2 separate regions of the Homo sapiens genome follow, and region 1 is linked to region 2. Evidence: promoter capture Hi-C in 16 types of primary human blood cells and fetal thymus (Javierre and others, 2016). All regions are on one chromosome and are shown on one strand. The core of a region is centred on a gene start or on the middle of the fragment in contact, and the rest is flanking DNA. Distances in the headings are between cores, read along the strand shown.

Evidence for each region. The method cuts DNA at HindIII sites, captures the fragments that hold promoters and counts their contacts. A CHiCAGO score of 5 or more calls a contact.
Region 1: a fragment that was not itself captured here is called in contact with the fragment with the promoter of IL6 in region 2 in 6 of 17 cell types (monocytes, M2 macrophages, M0 macrophages and 3 more); the score reaches 7.6 in monocytes.

The regions. Positions count from the first base shown.
Region 1 is chr7:22,545,304-22,548,896 of GRCh38, forward strand. No RefSeq gene overlaps it. Among named protein-coding and RNA genes, the nearest start is that of STEAP1B-AS1, 16 kb to the right of the region's middle. The HindIII fragment of the contact is 3,477 bases long and covers 1-3,051 here.
Region 2 is chr7:22,725,312-22,729,366 of GRCh38, forward strand. It overlaps IL6 (interleukin 6), which reads left to right and starts at 1,889. Exons shown (of 5, transcript NM_000600.5): 1 at 1,889-1,970; 2 at 2,133-2,323; 3 at 3,382-3,495. The coding sequence starts at 1,952. It overlaps IL6-AS1 (IL6 antisense RNA 1), which reads right to left and starts at 2,309. Exons shown (of 2, transcript NR_131935.1): 1 at 2,257-2,309; 2 at 84-1,394. RefSeq lists a silencer at 1,304-1,353 and an enhancer at 1,339-2,538. The HindIII fragment of the contact is 10,105 bases long and covers 1-3,646 here.

The sequences.
Region 1 (3,593 bases), core at 63-2,562, 180 kb before region 2:
TCCCAGAGCAAACAGTGGCCATTTACCCTGATAACTGTGATGTGGGAGAGGGGAATATACAAATCTCCCAGGAGTTATTAGATACTGTCTCTTAATTTACATGAGTCTTCAGAGACCACCTTGCAGTATGGGAGCTCCTGCAGATCAAGTGCTGAATCTTCCTTGCCCAAGTCCCTCTTATATTGGGTCCAACATGGACCCTCACTGTGATTATACCCTCAATTTCAGGGTGTGTAGAAAGAATAAACTTTGCAACTGGCAGAATGTCCGCACTGGTTCCCTGATCTGTGGAGTAGGGCTATTATAACTGGAAGGGCCAAATGAACTCTTCTGGAACTGACTTCTTTGCCAAAATTGTAAATCAAAAGCAACAGTGCATCCCTAGGGAGCTAGTACTCCGCACTTTGTGGCTAACCTAGGGGAATAGTCTGGACTGTAACCATTTGCCCTTCCTAGGGAGATAAGAAAAGTTTTATTATCCCTTTTGATCAGAGCAATTAATCAAACAAATGACTACAGACCTAATCCTCACAGTATATGAAAAGTAAAACATTGCTAGGAGAAGGCAAACATTCTTTATCTTTACATTATACACATTTCTGTGTCTCAGGAGGCTACAGCTTCTAGATAGGAGCACTGAGGAATCTAGGGGAGACTTATTTCTCCACAGGTACAAGTGGGGCCCCTCTTACCAGAACCACAGGACTGAGAATAAGAAATGATAGTCACTCCCAAAGCAAGATTTGGGGACTATTGGCAACATAAAAGGGAAATAGAGACTTGAAAGGCCACCAGAGAATGCCCACAATTTCAAGAAATCTCTCAAACCAAATCCAGCACCATATTGAATGGCAAAACCCTAGATATATAAATTCAGAAGCCCATATGGAATGCCCCCATCACTACCATGATTTAACATTACTCTGGAGGCTCTATTAATACAGTTAGACAAAAGAAACAAAATAAGGTTTAAACACTGGAAAGGAGGAAGCAGCGTTATTATTATTTGTAGATATCATTGAACTTCAAAAGAATCAACTGGGAAACTACCAACATTTAAAAGAATAATGCAAAGTGGCTAAATTACAATAATTAATCATTTTCCTACATATAAAAAGTAGACAGAAAACTAATGAAAGAAAAGAACCAATAGACAACAGCCACAAGAACAAAAACTAACATGAAATGTGCAGACCTTTAATAAAGAAAAATTTAAGTTTCCTCTGCAGTATAAAAGAAGACTGGTCTAAGGAAAATATCTTGTTCTTATACAAGAAACAAATAATGTAAAGATGTCAATTCTTCCCTATTAGTTTATAATTTAACTAAAATCCTAAGTTCATATGGAAAAATATACATGTAATAATAGACAGGAAATTATGAAACAAAAGAATAATGCAAAGAACTAACCCTACTACATATTAAAATGAATTATAAAGCTAAATAATTGAACAGTTCAGTGTTTAATAAGGAATTGTTAAGCCAATAAAAAATATAAAGTTAATAAACAGGCTCAAATACAAATGTGAATTTAGTGTCTGATAAAGCTGGCATTCCGAATCAGTGAGAAAAGAGATTAATCAACAAATGACATTAAGAAGACACTTCTTCCATTAGTTTTCTGTCTACTTTTTGTAGTAGAAAATTTATTAATTATTGTAATAAGCCACGTTGTCACCATCTCTTATTTTTTTTTTTAGCTTTCGTTTTTTAGTTTTTTCATTTGGAGTACAATGACACCTACAAATAATAATGTTGCCTCTTCTTTTTCACTGTTTAATTTGGGAAAAAATTGCTAGATCCCTGGCTTACTCTTTGCATGAAACTAACTCCTAATGAATAAAAACTTAAGTAAAGTCATAGGGGCACTGGATTAAAAATAACAATAACATTGATTGAGCACTTACCCTATGTCAGGCATTACCTCGCAATATCCCTGTATGATAGGTACAAATGACACATCTGAGTCCAGAGAAGTTAAGTTAGCCAAGATCACACAGCACGTGTGATTTAAACACAGGCAGCCTAACTCCAAAGCCCATACACTTAATCACTATGTCATATAGCCTCCCAATTCCAGGAGAAAATATGAAAGAATTTTTCTATACCTTAGGGAAAGGAAATGTTTTCAAAGTATCATCAAAAACTAGAAGCCACGAAGACAAAGGTTGACCATTTTGACTATATAAAAGTTAAAGTTTTTTGGATGAAAAAATTAAGTGAAAAGATAAAACAACTAAGAAAAAAGTCATTTGCAACACAGATGTCAGAGGACTCATTTACTTAACATATAAAGAGCAGCTGCAAATTAGTAAAAAACAAACAAACAAACAAACCTTCTGTACCATAGAAGATTGGGAAAGAAGCATAAATGGGAAAAGACACCTATATGGCTCATAATTAAAGAAATGAAATGATGACAATAGGAAACCACTCTCCTTTGCCTTGCACTTAAGCAAAATATTTTAAAGTTTTTAAAATTAAAAAAACACAAGATGTTAGCAAGGATGTGGAAAACATACATTAAAATATATCATGTAAATTGCAACAACCTCTTTTTAAAAATTCGGCAATACTCATAAAATGTAAAATGCACATAACCTTTGACACAATAGTTCACTTCTAAGAACCTATCCTCCACGATAATTGTACATGTGTAGAAAGAGACCACTGAAGCAATGACTTCGTTAGGCAAAAAACTGCAAGTAGTCTAAATGCCCATTATTTAGAGGACTGAGTGAAGTAGAAAAGTGTAAGCCAGAATACTTTGATTCATTCTTGGTTAAAACTACAGTTTGAAACTATGGACCACAAGTTTCAATGGTATTATGACAGCTTTGAATGAAAAAGTTGTAGATACAAGTGCTTTTGGTAGATACAAGTAGGGCTTCTGGTTAGCCATGATCCATTGTTTAGAAAGATTAGAGGGAAAAGTTAGAGAATATTTACCAACCAATTACTGCAACATTAAAATAAGTCTATACTTTTTTCTGTACCTTGTGCAGATGAAGCTAATTTTCTGTCAAAATCAGTTTACTAAAAAGAGCCAAAAGCTTTCCTAATATGTAAAGGTTTGTTTTCACAATTATCTAACGGACTGTTGACCCATAACTTTGAGAACATGTATGTTTGTTATTGGAAACTGCACATATGCCTATTTTAAAGGATCTCATTTGTTCTCTTGAAAACTGTGTTTGCATAAGAGATTTAATGGCTCATCAACCAGAATACACTTAATCACTAAATATGACCTCCTGGGTCTTGTAATAATAAACAAGTCCACAGGAAACCTGTGAATTTTTTCTTGGAGTTAAAAATGGTTCTTCATTTTGACTTTCTCCTTTTATTGGCTTATGTAAATAAAATAATCTTTAAATAGTGTGACTGTCAGATTCATTACTTAAAACACAATTCAAAACTCTTTTTTTAAAGAGCTAAATAGGCCGGGTGTGGTGGCTCATGCCTGTAATCCCAGCACTTTGGGAGGCCAAGGTGGGTGGATCACGAGGTCGGGAGATCGAGACCATCCTGGCTAAAACAGTGAAACCCCGTCTCTACTAAAAATACAAAAAAATTAGCCGGGCATGGTGGCG
Region 2 (4,055 bases), core at 639-3,138:
GGAAAAGGGGCCAGGAGAGGAAGGAGACACTTTTCCCTGCATGCCCTGATGTCCTATTTGAACATTTTATCATGAACACGAACTTCCTATTTAAAAAACACTTTTTATTGAAAAGATAAATCTGTGTGTTGTATTGTGTCACTCAGTTCAAGTACTTGAAATTTATTGAATTGTATTTTCTAAAAAATAGATAGTTGAGTAAAAGCAAGCTCACATTACATAGACGGATCACAGTGCACGGCTGCGGAGCTGGGAGCAGTGGCTTCGTTTCATGCAGGAAAGAGAACTTGGTTCAGGAGTGTCTACGTTGCTTAAGACAGGAGAGCACTAAAAATGAAACCATCCAGCCATCCTCCCCCATTTTCATTTTCACACCAAAGAATCCCACCGCGGCAGAGGACCACCGTCTCTGTTTAGACAATCGGTGAAGAATGGATGACCTCACTTTCCCCAACAGGCGGGTCCTGAAATGTTATGCACGAAACAAAACTTGAGTAAATGCCCAACAGAGGTCACTGTTTTATCGATCTTGAAGAGATCTCTTCTTAGCAAAGCAAAGAAACCGATTGTGAAGGTAACACCATGTTTGGTAAATAAGTGTTTTGGTGTTGTGCAAGGGTCTGGTTTCAGCCTGAAGCCATCTCAGAGCTGTCTGGGTCTCTGGAGACTGGAGGGACAACCTAGTCTAGAGCCCATTTGCATGAGACCAAGGATCCTCCTGCAAGAGACACCATCCTGAGGGAAGAGGGCTTCTGAACCAGCTTGACCCAATAAGAAATTCTTGGGTGCCGACGCGGAAGCAGATTCAGAGCCTAGAGCCGTGCCTGCGTCCGTAGTTTCCTTCTAGCTTCTTTTGATTTCAAATCAAGACTTACAGGGAGAGGGAGCGATAAACACAAACTCTGCAAGATGCCACAAGGTCCTCCTTTGACATCCCCAACAAAGAGGTGAGTAGTATTCTCCCCCTTTCTGCCCTGAACCAAGTGGGCTTCAGTAATTTCAGGGCTCCAGGAGACCTGGGGCCCATGCAGGTGCCCCAGTGAAACAGTGGTGAAGAGACTCAGTGGCAATGGGGAGAGCACTGGCAGCACAAGGCAAACCTCTGGCACAGAGAGCAAAGTCCTCACTGGGAGGATTCCCAAGGGGTCACTTGGGAGAGGGCAGGGCAGCAGCCAACCTCCTCTAAGTGGGCTGAAGCAGGTGAAGAAAGTGGCAGAAGCCACGCGGTGGCAAAAAGGAGTCACACACTCCACCTGGAGACGCCTTGAAGTAACTGCACGAAATTTGAGGATGGCCAGGCAGTTCTACAACAGCCGCTCACAGGGAGAGCCAGAACACAGAAGAACTCAGATGACTGGTAGTATTACCTTCTTCATAATCCCAGGCTTGGGGGGCTGCGATGGAGTCAGAGGAAACTCAGTTCAGAACATCTTTGGTTTTTACAAATACAAATTAACTGGAACGCTAAATTCTAGCCTGTTAATCTGGTCACTGAAAAAAAATTTTTTTTTTTTCAAAAAACATAGCTTTAGCTTATTTTTTTTCTCTTTGTAAAACTTCGTGCATGACTTCAGCTTTACTCTTTGTCAAGACATGCCAAAGTGCTGAGTCACTAATAAAAGAAAAAAAGAAAGTAAAGGAAGAGTGGTTCTGCTTCTTAGCGCTAGCCTCAATGACGACCTAAGCTGCACTTTTCCCCCTAGTTGTGTCTTGCCATGCTAAAGGACGTCACATTGCACAATCTTAATAAGGTTTCCAATCAGCCCCACCCGCTCTGGCCCCACCCTCACCCTCCAACAAAGATTTATCAAATGTGGGATTTTCCCATGAGTCTCAATATTAGAGTCTCAACCCCCAATAAATATAGGACTGGAGATGTCTGAGGCTCATTCTGCCCTCGAGCCCACCGGGAACGAAAGAGAAGCTCTATCTCCCCTCCAGGAGCCCAGCTATGAACTCCTTCTCCACAAGTAAGTGCAGGAAATCCTTAGCCCTGGAACTGCCAGCGGCGGTCGAGCCCTGTGTGAGGGAGGGGTGTGTGGCCCAGGGAGGGCTGGCGGGCGGCCAGCAGCAGAGGCAGGCTCCCAGCTGTGCTGTCAGCTCACCCCTGCGCTCGCTCCCCTCCGGCACAGGCGCCTTCGGTCCAGTTGCCTTCTCCCTGGGGCTGCTCCTGGTGTTGCCTGCTGCCTTCCCTGCCCCAGTACCCCCAGGAGAAGATTCCAAAGATGTAGCCGCCCCACACAGACAGCCACTCACCTCTTCAGAACGAATTGACAAACAAATTCGGTACATCCTCGACGGCATCTCAGCCCTGAGAAAGGAGGTGGGTAGGCTTGGCGATGGGGTTGAAGGGCCCGGTGCGCATGCGTTCCCCTTGCCCCTGCGTGTGGCCGGGGGCTGCCTGCATTAGGAGGTCTTTGCTGGGTTCTAGAGCACTGTAGATTTGAGGCCAACGGGGCCGACTAGACTGACTTCTGTATTTATCCTTTGCTGGTGTCAGGAAGTTCCTTTCCTTTCTGGAAAATGCAGAATGGGTCTGAAATCCATGCCCACCTTTGGCATGAGCTGAGGGTTATTGCTTCTCAGGGCTTCCTTTTCCCTTTCCAAAAAATTAGGTCTGTGAAGCTCCTTTTTGTCCCCCGGGCTTTGGAAGGACTAGAAAAGTGCCACCTGAAAGGCATGTTCAGCTTCTCAGAGCAGTTGCAGTACTTTTTGGTTATGTAAACTCAATGGCTAGGATTCCTCAAAGCCATTCCAGCTAAGATTCATACCTCAGAGCCCACCAAAGTGGCAAATCATAAATAGGTTAAAGCATCTCCCCACTTTCAATGCAAGGTATTTTGGTCCTGTTTGGTAGAAAGAAAAGAACACAGGAGGGGAGATTGGGAGCCCACACTCGAATTCTGGTTCTGCCAAACCAGCCTTGTGATCTTGGGTAAATTCCCTACCACCTCTGGACTCCATCAGTAAAATTGGGCGTGGACTAGGTGATCTCATAGATCCTTCCTGCTGGAACATTCTATGGCTTGAATTATATTCTCCTAATTATTGTCAAAATTGCTGTTATTAAGTATCTACTGTGTGCCAGGCACTTTAAATAAATATTGTGTCTAATCTTCAAAACAAATTTGCAAGGAAGGTTTTTGGAGATAAGGAAACTGAGACTCAGGATTAAGTAACACACCTAAAGTCACAGGTGAGCTTGGAACTGAACCCAAGTGTGCCCCCACTCCACTGGAATTTGCTTGCCAGGATGCCAATGAGTTGTAGCTTCATTTTTCTTAGAGACTTTCCTGGCTGTGGTTGAACAATGAAAAGGCCCTCTAGTGGTGTTTGTTTTAGGGACACTTAGGTGATAACAATTCTGGTATTCTTTCCCAGACATGTAACAAGAGTAACATGTGTGAAAGCAGCAAAGAGGCACTGGCAGAAAACAACCTGAACCTTCCAAAGATGGCTGAAAAAGATGGATGCTTCCAATCTGGATTCAATGAGGTACCAACTTGTCGCACTCACTTTTCACTATTCCTTAGGCAAAACTTCTCCCTCTTGCATGCAGTGCCTGTATACATATAGATCCAGGCAGCAACAAAAAGTGGGTAAATGTAAAGAATGTTATGTAAATTTCATGAGGAGGCCAACTTCAAGCTTTTTTAAAGGCAGTTTATTCTTGGACAGGTATGGCCAGAGATGGTGCCACTGTGGTGAGATTTTAACAACTGTCAAATGTTTAAAACTCCCACAGGTTTAATTAGTTCATCCTGGGAAAGGTACTCTCAGGGCCTTTTCCCTCTCTGGCTGCCCCTGGCAGGGTCCAGGTCTGCCCTCCCTCCCTGCCCAGCTCATTCTCCACAGTGAGATAACCTGCACTGTCTTCTGATTATTTTATAAAAGGAGGTTCCAGCCCAGCATTAACAAGGGCAAGAGTGCAGGAAGAACATCAAGGGGGACAATCAGAGAAGGATCCCCATTGCCACATTCTAGCATCTGTTGGGCTTTGGATAAAACTAATTACATGGGGCCTCTGATTGTCCAGTTATTTAAAATGGTGCTGT